Regions from separate parts of the Homo sapiens genome. Here region 1 is linked to region 2. Evidence: promoter capture Hi-C in 16 types of primary human blood cells and fetal thymus (Javierre and others, 2016). All regions are on one chromosome and are shown on one strand. Each heading gives the region's core, a stretch centred on a gene start or on the middle of the fragment in contact. The rest is flanking DNA. Distances are from core to core; before and after follow the strand shown.

What was found. Contacts are between HindIII fragments. The CHiCAGO score rates a contact against its expected background, and 5 or more counts as called.
Region 1: a fragment that was not itself captured here is called in contact with the fragment with the promoter of ATMIN in region 2 in 2 of 17 cell types (fetal thymus and M2 macrophages); the score reaches 10.4 in fetal thymus.

The regions. Positions count from the first base shown.
Region 1 is chr16:81,724,547-81,730,858 of GRCh38, forward strand. No RefSeq gene overlaps it. Among named protein-coding and RNA genes, the nearest start is that of PLCG2, 52 kb to the right of the region's middle. RefSeq lists a silencer at 52-300. The HindIII fragment of the contact is 9,174 bases long and covers 74-6,312 here.
Region 2 is chr16:81,034,065-81,040,227 of GRCh38, forward strand. It overlaps ATMIN (ATM interactor), which reads left to right and starts at 1,778. Exons shown (of 4, transcript NM_015251.3): 1 at 1,778-2,142. The coding sequence starts at 1,807. It overlaps CENPN-AS1 (CENPN antisense RNA 1), which reads right to left. Exons shown (of 4, transcript XR_007065134.1): 1 at 2,673-6,163; 2 at 691-862. RefSeq lists silencers at 1,598-1,887, 2,098-2,447. The HindIII fragment of the contact is 2,725 bases long and covers 304-3,028 here.

The DNA.
Region 1 (6,312 bases), core at 3,411-5,910, 690 kb after region 2:
ACACATTGGAATCACCTGAAGAGCTTTAAAACATGCTGACTCTGGGATGGGGCCTGGATGTGTGACTTGGAAAAGCTTCTTAACTGATTCTCATGTGCAGCCAGGGCTGAAACCGCTGGTCTAGAAGCCTTGCTGCTCAATGTGTGGCCTGTGGAGAGCTCATGATAAATGCAGAGCTTCAGGGCTCACCCCAGACCTCCTGAGTCAGAATCTATGTTTCAACAAGATCTTCAGGTGTTTCTTGTGCACTTTCAATTTGGAGCAGCCCTGGGCTCAGAGCTGGCGATGTCGATTGCAGAGCCCAGTGTAAAGTGACAATGCAAGCTCCCTGTTCAAAAAATGATTAAGAATTTTAAGAAAGCATTAGCAGAGCATTAAACCAAGCACAGGACCCTTCGAAGCTCAGTTCTGTGTGACTGCGCAGGTTGCATGTCCAAGAAGCCTGGGCTAGCTTCCCTCTGATTTGTCAGGGAGATGCCTGTCAGCAAACAAATCCATGTGCAGGATCCACTCATCACTGTACTGAAACCTGCCTTTCGGGGCCATGAAACTTTCCCTGGAGCGTTTTGGGTCATCTCTGCAGAACGACAAGGATGAGGACAGGATGGAAGAGACTCCTTCTCGCACCCGGCGACAGTTCTCTAGGCTGTTTGTTCTGTAACTGTGCCGGTAAGAGCAATGCACTGTTTCCCCGCCCCGAGAACACCAGGCATGTTCCTCCTCTTTGATTTGCCAGGGAGGAGAAGGGGCTTTCAGATCCACTGGGAAGGAGGCTCTGCAATCCCAGCTACTTGCTGGGACCAGGATTACCCTAGAAGCAGCTCCTCTCTGGGGCTCTCCCTATCCATCCACTGGCTACTGCTGGGCAGGGCAGGTGGGGGACAGTGATTCCCTTGTGGGCTGTTTTGTGAATAGCAGTAATGCATTTCACAGCCCTGGAGACGTGTCCATCACAGATAGGGGATGCTCCAGGCCACCCCTGTTCAAAAGAAATAGAAGACAAGCCACGTAGATAAATTTAAATGTTATGGTAGCCGCATTTTAAAAATTAAGAAGAAATAGGTGAAATTAATTTTGACAATACATTTTATTTTCTTTCTTTCTTTCCTTTCTTTCTTTCTTTCTTTCTTTCTTTCTTTCTTTCTTTCTTTCTTTCTTTCTTTCTTTCTTCCTTCCTTCCTTCCTTCCTTCCTTTTTTTTTTTTGATTGAGACGGAGTTTCGTTCTTGTCACCCAGGCTGGAATGCAATGGTATGTTCTCGGCTCACTGCAACCTCTGCCTCCTGGGTTCAAGCGATTCTCCTGCCTCAGCCTCCCAAGTAGCTGGGATTATAGGGGCTCACCTCCACACCTGGCTAATTTTTTTGTATTTTTAGTAGAGATGGGGTTTCACCATGTTGGCCAGGCTGGTCTCAAACTCCTGACCTCAGGTGATCCGCCTGCCTTGGCCTCCCAAAATGCTGTGACAATATATTTTATTTAACCTCACATATCCAAAATATTATCATTTCAATGTGTAGTCAATATAAAAAATGACTAATGAGATAGTTTATGTATTTTTCCCCCATACTAAGTCTCAAAATCTGGTGTGTGTCTTGCATTTAGAGCACGACTCAGTTCACACCAGCTACATTTCAAGTGCTCAGTAGCGGCCATCTATACCTGGTGGCTGCTGTGTAGACAATGCAGTTCTAGAATTTCTATAAACCAGTAGCCAAGGCAGTGGCCACATAATAAGGAGTGTGGCACTGACCGGGTGCAGTGGCTCATGCCTGTAATCCCAACACTTTGGGAGGCTGAGGCAGGCGGATCACTTGAGATCAGGAGTTTGAGATCAGGCTGGCCAACACAGTGAAACCCCATCTCTACTAAAAATAGAAAACTTAGCCGGGCATGGTGGCAGGTGCCTGTAGTCCCAGCTACTTGAGAGGCTGAGGCAGGAGAATTGCTTGAACCCCGGAGGCAGAGGTTGCAGTGAGCCAAGATCATGCCACTGCACTCCAACCTAGGCGACGGAGCAAGACTTCATCTCAAAAACAAAACAAAACAAAAAACAAACAAACACAAGAAAAGGAATTGGGGCACTGAGGGGGCAGGAATTGAGACAGCATTTACATGTTGGTAAAATCTTTCTACTTAGCATGCATGTTTACGGAGAGGCTTTCCAAGCCACCGGGGAGCACTGTCCCATCAAACCCCAAGCACTAAAGGTCTCAGGCATGACCTCCTGGAATGGGTTCTGGCAGAATGGACTTGCAGAGGTAAGATTCCCAGGTCTACCCCAAAGTCTCAATTGAGAGCCAGCATCTGTCTCTTGCAATTGATTTTTTAAAATAAGAGTATATTCATTTACAAAGGACTTGTAGATCATAACCGTGCACCCGTGGAATAAATGAATGAATGAATGAAAAATGCCAGTGTGAAGAACAGAAAGCAGCTCTTCTCATGGAATGAGGGGCGGTGGATCGGGCATCTGACCTACATCTAAACTCAGGGGTTGGGCAACGAGACTGGAATTTTGATCTTGGGCTGCAGACCATCAGAGATGTGCCTGGGGCAGGCAGTTGTAGACTCAGTCAGAGCTGCATCCTTATTAGACGTGGATCCCAAAGTGCATCCAGAGCCCCCGTTTCCACTGCCCATCATCCCATCAGGAGAGGGCCCTGCCTTTGCTTCTCACAGCCTTTCATTCATCCAGTCACCCATTCATTTATTCACTGAGCACAATGTATCAAGTAGAACCTTTAAAAAGTTGTGCTAAGTGGAAGAGGCCAGTCACAAAAGTCCACATAATGTGTGATTCCATTTATACGAACATCCAGAGTGTCTATAGAAACAGAAAGTAGGTTAGTGCTTGCTTAGGGCTGAGGGGGATGGGGGATAGGAGGGTGACTGCCCACAGGTACAGGGTATCATTTTTGGGTAATGAAAAGGTTCTAAAATCGACCATGATGATGTCTGCACAGTTCTGAATACACTAAATACCATTGCAGTGCACACTTTCTAAGGGTGAATTGAACGGTGTGTCAATTAAACCTCAATAAGGCCATCTAAAAATATGTGTTGAGCACTTACTGTGTGTTGGGCACACTGGGGACTCAGGAGTGAATGGAACTAATGCCATCCTCACCCTCAGGCCACATACAGTGTGGGGATGGAGGCAGCTGCTAAACAAATGATCATACAAATCATTTTCCTTTTTGTTTTGCATTCTATTTTGTTTTTAATGGACACTGTAAACCAAAAATAAAATTGTAAGGCCCTGCAACCTTCTGAATGGACCCCTCCTCTAGGCCAAGGACATTCTAGAATGAACCTGAAAATCTAGTTCAGGCCGTCATGGAAGAGGGGGTTGGACATTTCTTATTATACCCTCCAGCTTTAACACAGACCTTAAGTCTGATAAGAAACATTTACAATCTATTCTCTCTGAAGCCTGTTACGTGAAGGCACCATCTGCATGATAACACCTTGGTCTCTACAACCCATATGGCAACTCAGACCTTTTCTTTTCTTTTCTTTTCTTTTCTTTTCTTTCTTTCTTTCTTTCTTTCTTTCCTTCCTTCTTTCCTTCCTTCCTCCATCCCTCCCTCCCTCCCTTTCTTTCTGTCTTTCTGTCTTTCTCCTTCCTTCCTTTTTTTTTTTTTTTGAGACAGAGTCTCTCTCTGTCGCCCAGGCTGGAGTGCAGTGGCGCCATCTCGGCTCACTGCAAGCTCCGCCTCCTGGGTTCACGCCATTCTCCTGCCTCAGCCTGCCGAGTAGCTGGGACTACAGGTGCCTGCCACCATGCCTGGCTAATTTTTTTGTATTTTTAGTAGAGACGGGGTTTCACTGTGTTAGCCAAGATGGTCTTGATCTCCTGACCTCATGATCAGCCTGCCTCGGCCTCCCAAAGTGCTGGGATTACAAGCGTGAGCCACCACGCCCGGCTGTCTTTCTTTCTTTCTTCCTTCCTTCCTTTCCGTGAGCCAGCATGCCCTTCCTCCCTCCTCCCTCCCTCCCTTCCTTCCTTCCTTCCTCTCTCTCTCCTTCCTTCCTTCCTCCCTGCCTTTCTTTCCTTCCTTCCCTTCCTTCCTTCTTTTCTTCCTTTCTTTCCTTCCTTCCTTTCTTCCCTCCCTCTCTTTCCTTCTTTCCTTCCTTCCTTCCTTTCTTTCTCTTTCTTTCTTCACAGGGTCTCACTGTGTTGCCCAGGCTGGACTGCAGTGGCATGATCTTGTCTTACTGTAACCTCCACCTCCCAGGTTCAACCCACCTCAACCTGCCAAGTAGCTGCAGTTACAGGCATGTGACCCCACACCTGGCTAATTTTTGTATTTTTAGTAGAGATGGGGTTTTACCATGTTGTGCAGGCTGGTCTCGAACTCCTGACCCCAAGTGATCCACTCACCTCAGCCTCCCAAACTGCTGAGATTACAGGCGTGAGCCACGGCACCCGGCCACGACTCAGACATTTCTTACTACCGATAATAACTTTTCAACCAATTGGCAATCAGAAAAATTTACATCCATCTACAACCTGGAAGGCCCTGCACACTTTGAGTTGTCCCACGCTTCCAGATGGAACCAATGTCAGTCTTACACATATTGACGTATTACGCCTCCCTAAAATGTATAAAAACAAGCTGTACCTTGACCTCCTTCGACACATTCAGGATCTCCTGAGGCTGTGTCACCGGCACGTCCTTAAACTTGGCAAAATAAACTCTCTAAATTGATTGAGCCCTGTCTCAGATACTTTGGGGTTCACAATACTTGGCAATGGTACATATTTATGGTTTCCATACATGTATACATTGTGTAATGATCAAATCAGGGTAACCAGCAAATCCATCACCCCAAACCTTGATCATTTCTTTGTGGTGAGAACATTCAGACGTCTCTTGTCGCTGTTTGGAAACACACACCACGTTATTGTTAACTGTCCTCACCCTGGGGACAGCAAGGAGGGCCGAAAGGAAGTGCAGGCTGCTGTGAGCGCCTTCAAGAGGGGGCAGCACTGAGCTCACCTGCGAGCCTAGGCCTGGAGAGCAGCTGGAGTCTCCAGCCCGAGGGGAGGCGGAGGAGGAAACTGCCTTGCAGGCAGAGGGAAGAGCATGTGCGGAGGCCCCGAGGCAGAGCCTGGCAATTCGTCGGCGGAACAGATGCTGGAAGTGGGGAGGAGGAGGAGGAGGAACAGGAGGAGGTACGGGGGTCTGGGCCGCTGTAGAGAGCCGAGGCCTCTGAAGTCTCAGCACTAGGGCAGTGGGAAGCTGTTACAGGGTAGACGCCCGGGATGTGGGAGGGGCTATATGATAATCTGGGAGGTTTTTTGTTTTTTTTTTTTTTTTTTTTTGAGATGGAGTTTTGCTCTTGTTGCCCAAGCTGGAGTGCAATGGCGTGATCTCGGCTCACCGCAACCTCCGCCTCCCGGGTTCTAGTGATTCTTCTGCCTCAGCCTCCCGTGTAGCTGGGATTACAGGCATGCGCCACCATGCCCAGCTAATTTTTGTACTTTTAGTAGAGACGGGGGTTTCACCTTGTTGGTCAGGCTGGTCTCGAACTCCCGACCATAGATGATGCGCCCGCCTTGGCCTCCCAAAGTGCTGGGATTGCAGGCGTGAGCCACTGCGCCCGGCCTGGGAGTTGTTCTGTATTGTGGAGTAAAGGGAGGCAGAGGTGAAGCCATCGAGAGAGCAGCGAGCTCATCGCTCCCCACATTCTATTAAAATGCACATTCTCCCGGGAGGGGGTTTCCAGTTAATGAAACAGGAAGCGAGGTCTGTTGAGCTTGCAACCAGCTGAGAGCAATTTGAGGACAAAAGGGAAGGGCGGGAAGAAGCGGGATCTCGGGAAGGTGGCAGGCAGGTGAGAGCCTGGCTGGCCCGTTCACGCCTGTCTGCCCCTGGTGGCCAGGACGGGAAGGTCAGAGGACAGGGTCGGAGGCGCCAACGCTCCTGGGGTCCCAGCTGCTGCAGATCCGGGCTGGGGCTGGGCCTGGCCGCTGCTGGGGGCGGGAGGCAATTCCCAGCCCCGGGCCGGTGACGTCAACGTTGTCATGGAGACCCGGCTTCCCTGCCCAGCGTTGCAGCTGCGGGAGCCCGGGCTGGGAGGCTCTGTGAGGCTGAGGGAAGCAGAGGGCACAGACCTGGGTCCTGCAGGCGGTGGCTCCACCTAAGAGCACAACCCTGCCAGAGGCAGGATGCCCAGAATGGGCGGGGCTCCCTGCTGCACCCAGCCCGCCCCGACCCTTGCCGCCCAGACGTGGCTTCGGCCTTGCGCTGGCTCCTGGGGTAGCGGATGGGGAACCCCCTGAGATGGGGGCCCAGGCTTCCCC
Region 2 (6,163 bases), core at 528-3,027:
TTTCACCTGCGCTTCTGACTAACCAGCTATAAATTGCATTTCCCACAACCCTCTCTTCATGTTCAATTAATTTGCTAGGGCAGCTCACAGAACTCAGGAAGACACATAGACTGACTTCTTACAAGGGATGTTACAAAGGATTCAGATGAAAAGATGCATAGGGCAAGAGCTTCCACGCATGCCCTCTTTGAGTGCGCCTCCCTCCAGGAAACTCCATGCATTCAGCTATCTGGAAGTTCTCCAAACCCATTTCTTTTGGGATTTTATGGAGGCTTCATTACCTAGGAATGATTGATCAGCTTAAGCTTCAGCCCCTGTCTCCTCCCCAGAGGTTGAGGGGGAGGGCTGAAAGTCTCAAGCCTCTAATCCTACCTTGGTCTTTCCAGTGACCAGTCCCATCCTAAAGCTACCTAGGGACTGTGAGTCATCAGTCAACTAATTAGCATACAAAAAAACACCAATTTGCTGATTCCAAGGATTTTAGGAATTGCATGCCAGGACAAAGACCAAATATATACTTCACATTATCACAGTTATCTTGCAAGGCAAAGGGACTTGGCAGTTGGAGAAATTATCCTGGATGATTTGAATGGGCCCAATGTCATCACAGGGGGCCTCAAGAATAGAAGAATCAGAGGGATCACTACTGAAGAAATCAGAGTGATGTGATGTGACGAAGACTCAACTCACCGTTACTGATTCTGGAGATGGAGGAAGGGTCCGCAAGCCAAGGAATGTAGGCAACCTCTAGAAGCTGGGAAAGGCAAGTGAACAGATTCTCCCCTGGAGCCTTGGGAAGGAATACAGCCCTGCTGACACCTTGATCTTAGCCCAGCAGTCTCATTTCTTTTGACCTCCAGAGCTGGAAGATAATAAATTTGTGTTAAGGCAGTAAGTTTGTGGTAATTTATTAATAGCAAGAGAAAACGAATATAGCTGCTAGTATGTAAAAGGTGGAAATTTTCACATAAAACTCTAGCCATACCAAAGATGAGTAGCAGCTGCCCCCTTTTAATAAAGGATGTGTTTCCAATTTCACTGCAGTCCTCACCCCTCCCTTTTGTCTACCCCAGCCTCCTATGTCCATTTACATGAACTACCCAGTCTAAGTATTAAGTTTTGTAATCGTATACTGAACTGCAGTGTCTCCCAAACAGTAATCCTAATTTCAGCAGCTAAAATAGAAGCAAGCAAATCCAGCCTTCTTAAAATGATTAATCCTATCAATAATAACAATCTTTTCATTTGTATAGTGTGGTCTAGGTCAAGTTACTTAATTTATATAAGCCTAAATGTCCTTCTCTGCACAAGGTGGGGCAAGTTACAGTACATACCCGCTACAGTCGTTTTGAAGACAAAATGAGACACAGCATGAAAAGTGCATCCACCAGACCCACCTGGTACCCAGTAAGGCCTAGGTAATAAACAACGGCGGAAATCAGTGTACTTCTGCCTCACCTGCCACTAGACATTTGGGTTGTTTCTAATCTTTGGGAAGTAAACGCATTGCTCAACGTATTGCTTTTTCTTTTATGTGACTACTGCCTGAAGTCACTTTCCTAGGAAGAATGGATCGATTAGAGAGGCGGGGCAATACCTTTTACCTGCTGGCAGGTGAAATTTCGCCTCCTGGCGGCGTCACCTAAAGTCCTCTCCCTCCAAGGCGCGCCCTCCGCGGCCGGCAGGGGGCGCCGCGGCCGCCTGGGCCCGCCGGATGCTAACAAGCCTGGCGGCCTCGCCCCCTGCCGGAAGTGGCTGCGGCGGGGGCGGGGCCTACGAACTGGGCCGGGCGGCCGTGCGGGAGCCATGGCGGCCTCGGAGGCGGCGGCGGCGGCGGGGTCCGCGGCTCTGGCGGCGGGTGCCCGGGCCGTCCCGGCGGCCACGACAGGAGCCGCCGCCGCCGCCTCGGGCCCGTGGGTGCCCCCGGGACCCCGACTGAGGGGCAGCCGGCCGCGGCCCGCGGGGGCGACGCAGCAGCCCGCTGTCCCCGCGCCGCCGGCGGGGGAGCTGATCCAGCCGTCGGTGAGCGAGCTGTCCCGGGCCGTGCGGACCAACATCCTGTGCACCGTGCGCGGCTGCGGCAAGATCCTGCCCAACAGCCCCGCGCTCAACATGCACCTAGTCAAGAGCCACCGCCTGCAGGTGAGCCCGACGCGGCCGGCGGCCCGGGGGGCCGGGCCTGGCTCCAACAAAGCGCCCGGCGCCGGCGCGCGAAGCCGGCCTCGGGGGGACGAGCGCCCTGCGCGCTGCCGCTGCCGCTGCCCCACCGGCCTCTGCCCTCCCCGGCCGGAGGCGGCTCTCGAACCCTCGCGGCAGGCGCCGCAGGTGCGGCCTCTGGGGGGGAGGAGGAGCTGGGAGCCCCGGGTCCGCCGTACGCGCCAGTTCCCTGGTTCCCTGGCTCCCTGGCCCCGAGTGTCGTGCCGGACGCCGGCCCAGGCTTTTTACACTTTTTTGCCTGTGAGTTCTTAACGGCGTTTTGGCGAGGGACGCATCGTCTCCATTATATTAATGAGAAACAGATTATGCAACCTAGATGATGCGGGGCTTTAAACCGGGGCCTCTGGTTCTAAAGCCCTGTGCTTGCCACGACACCCACAATGCCGCCCTTGGGTCCTGCCCAGTGGACTGTATGTGCCACAATAACTAGAAGAGAGGGTTTTAAATGTTCTCACCACCAAGAGACAATACGTTTGAGGTCGAGGACATGTTAAACACTCTGACTTGATCACTATGCAATGTATATGTCCATCCATGCTGCACACCGCACCCCATCAGTAGGAATAATTACTGTGTGTCGATTATGAATAAAAAAATGTTTTAAAGGAGCGGTAGGTTTGCCTCTAAACACCATCAGTCAGTTTCACGGTGTTGGTAAGATCAGCTCAGGACTGAGACCTAAGGGAAATTGCCCCTGTGGCTCTTCTTTAAGAGGGGGACACAGTAAATACACCATGACAATAGTCTCAACAACCCTCCACGTTATGCAAAACAGGGCAGTCATTTTCAACCTTGGGACACATCTGTGACAAGCTTATTAAAAATCCAGATGTCCAGCCCCACCCCGGACCTGTTAAGTCACAATCTCTCAGTCATTACAATGGCAAGTTTCCTTCCACCACTCTAGGCCAGCAGTGACATAATTCAAAAGCGCAAGTCATTGAAAGCAGTTCTGCGAATATGTAGCTTTTGATGATCAGGAGTAAATTTAGAGTACCCAGAATATTGCATGTTCTGTCTGCCCATAGTCAGGCTTCTGATAAGAATTTCACAGCAGAAAACTCTGAGGTTGTAGTCTCTAGTAGGACAGATGTGTCGCCAATGAAGAGTGATCTGCTCTTACCACCATCTAAACCGGGATGCAACAACGTTCTCAATTGAAGATCAGGGAGCCAGTCAGGAAATGTACCTGAGGTATGCTGAGGAAGACCGTGCAGGTGGGGCCGAATTGTTGGACTGAAAAGCTCTGGGTTTCTTTCAGCACTCAAGTGTAACTCTGGGAATGGCTTTCAACCTGTTGTTTTGTTTTCATACTAAATTTTAACTAAATCCTTTTCTTCCCTATTGTTTTTGTGTTTTTTTGTTTGTTTTTGAGACAGAGTCTCACTCCATCACCCAGGCTGGAGCGCAGTGGCGCCATCTCAGCTCACTGTAACCTCTGCCTCCGGGGTTCAAGCAGTTCTCCTGCCTCAGCCTCCCTAGTAGCTGGGATTACAGGCACCTGCCACCACACCCTGCTAATTTTTTTTTGTATTTTTAGTAAAGACAGGTTGCACCATGATGGCCAGCTTGGTCTCGAACTCCTGACCCTCAGGTGATCCACCCACCTCAGCCTCTTAAAGTGCTGGGATTCCAGGTGTGAGCCACCGCGACCGACCTAAATCCTTTATTTAATCATAACTTAGGTGGATGAACTATTTCTTAATAGTTTCTGTTGTTCCTTTCTGTGGAGTTGTTGTTAGGAGCTCTAGCTCTTTAAAGACCCTGGTAAACATCTGTTGAACATAAAGATACCATTTGCCTTTCAGGACTGGTTAGTATACAGTAGGTTTGTTTCTAATTATGTTGGGTTTTTTTTGTTTTGTTTGAGACAGAGTCTCACTCTGTCGCCCAGGCTGGAGTGCAGTGGCGCCATCTTGGATCACTGCAACCTCTGCCTCCCAGGTTCAAGCGAGTCTCCTGCCTCAGCCTCCCTAGTAGCTGGGATTACAGGTGCATACCACCACGCCCAGCTAATTTTTGTATTTTTAGTAGAGGTGGGGTTTCACCATGTTGGCCAGGCTGGTCTCGAACTCCTGACCTCAAGTGATCCACCCGCCTCAGCCTCCTAAAGGGCTGGGATTACAGGTGTGAGCCACTGTGCCCAGCCAGGGCAAACTTTTTTTTAGCAGGAATTATACCTCACCAGATCCATCATTTTTTTCTTGACAAGCAGACTGACTTTCCTGTCTTGTCCTGGCTTTCTAACCGCAGTGCCCAGTGGCCCCTGAGCAGCTCCTGTCTTGGTGTCTTCCTTTAATGAAGGTTGTCTGTGTGATGCAATAGCCATCTATATGATGGTGCCCAGTATGGAGATCTGTACCTTGTCTGGTTACTACATAGAAGGCTTTTCAGGGTCTTGCTCTGTTAACCCAGGTTGCTGTCAGGCTCTTGAGCTCAAGTGATCCTCCTGCTTTAGCCTCCCCAGTAGCTGAGACTATAGGCTCCTGCCACCATGCCCTGCCTCAAACATTGTTCTTTTTGTTTGTTTGTTTGAGACAGTCTCACTCTGTCGCCCAGACTGGAGTGCAGTGGCATGATCTCGGCTCACTGCAACTTCCGCTTCTCGGGTTCAAGCAGTTCTCTTGCCTCAGCCTCCCGAGTAGTTGGGACTACAGGCATGCTCCACCACGCCCGACTAATTTTTGTTTTATTAGTAGAAACAGGGTTTCGCCATGTTGGTCGGGCTGGTCTTGAACTCCTGACCTCAAGTGATCCGCCCGCTTCAGCCTCCCAAAGTACTGGGATTACAAGAGTGAGCCACTGCGCCAGGCCTCAAACATCAATGTTGATACCTGTTTTCAAAGTACTGGAAGAAGGTAGGGGTAAGGACAAGGAACCGGGAGGAAGGCTGGCTGGGAAGCTATCTTAGGTTTTAAGAGCTGTGTTGACCAGAGACTCCATCCACTTTCTGCCCTGAGTATCTTATTGGCAGGTTTTCTTATAGTCAGTGGAAATTTTCGGTCTTAGTTACAGCTGCTTGCATAATTTCTTTCATTGTTTATATATTTTCTAGATTATATTTTCTTCCCCTCCCCACTAGTTGCTGTTGGTTCTTATTTTATTCTAATCTTTCTTCCCAAAACACCCCACCCCCAACCAAATCTTCCCTTCTTAACATAAATGATGAGCAACGAGGATGGGTGAGAATGAGGAATTGGATTGCAAACTGTAGAGTATGTGCCGCCTTCTGGTTTGATGTGGGTGCCTAAGGTATATGGCCATATTCCATATCCTGTAAGGAAATCCAGAAATCTAGCCCAGCCTTGTGTATGGTGGGATTCATGGAGAAATGAAAGCCATGAGGATTCAGGGGCAGGAAGAGCAGAAGTAAATGTACATTTTTTTATTCCTAGAGATTCTTTTGTTCCTTGTGTGTGAAAGCAGTGGAGGGGACAGGCAGGCACTTAAAGAACCTCTTATCAAGCAACATTTATATTGTAAAACATGGCTTAGAGGATTTTGTGTTATTTTTAGTCCAGAGGTTTGTTTTTAATGATTTGCCAGAAATTTTTTAAGGAAAGGAAAGGTTCCAAGTTACTCTATAGACTATACTGTACAAAGATTTCTAATTTTAAATTTAGAATAAGATGACAAAGCAAACCGTTTCCTTCTTGGATGCTTTCTCGGAAGGCAGTCAGGTGGTGCTAGAGTAGCTAGACAGACAGTTTTTCCTAGTTTTTGCTACAGTTCTTACAATCGTTTCTTTTCACCCTCTACTCTTCAACTGTGTCTTACTTTTCCTCTTGTATATTTTCTTTCTGTCTTGTTACTGGATTGTTTCCTCTCATAGGTTCTCTTTTCAGTTATGCGCACAAAAGATACAGTACAAAAAGTCCAGTGCATTTTATTCTTGAAAGTATATAGAACTTCAGAATGAAAACACCACTTTCTCACTGCACTTCCA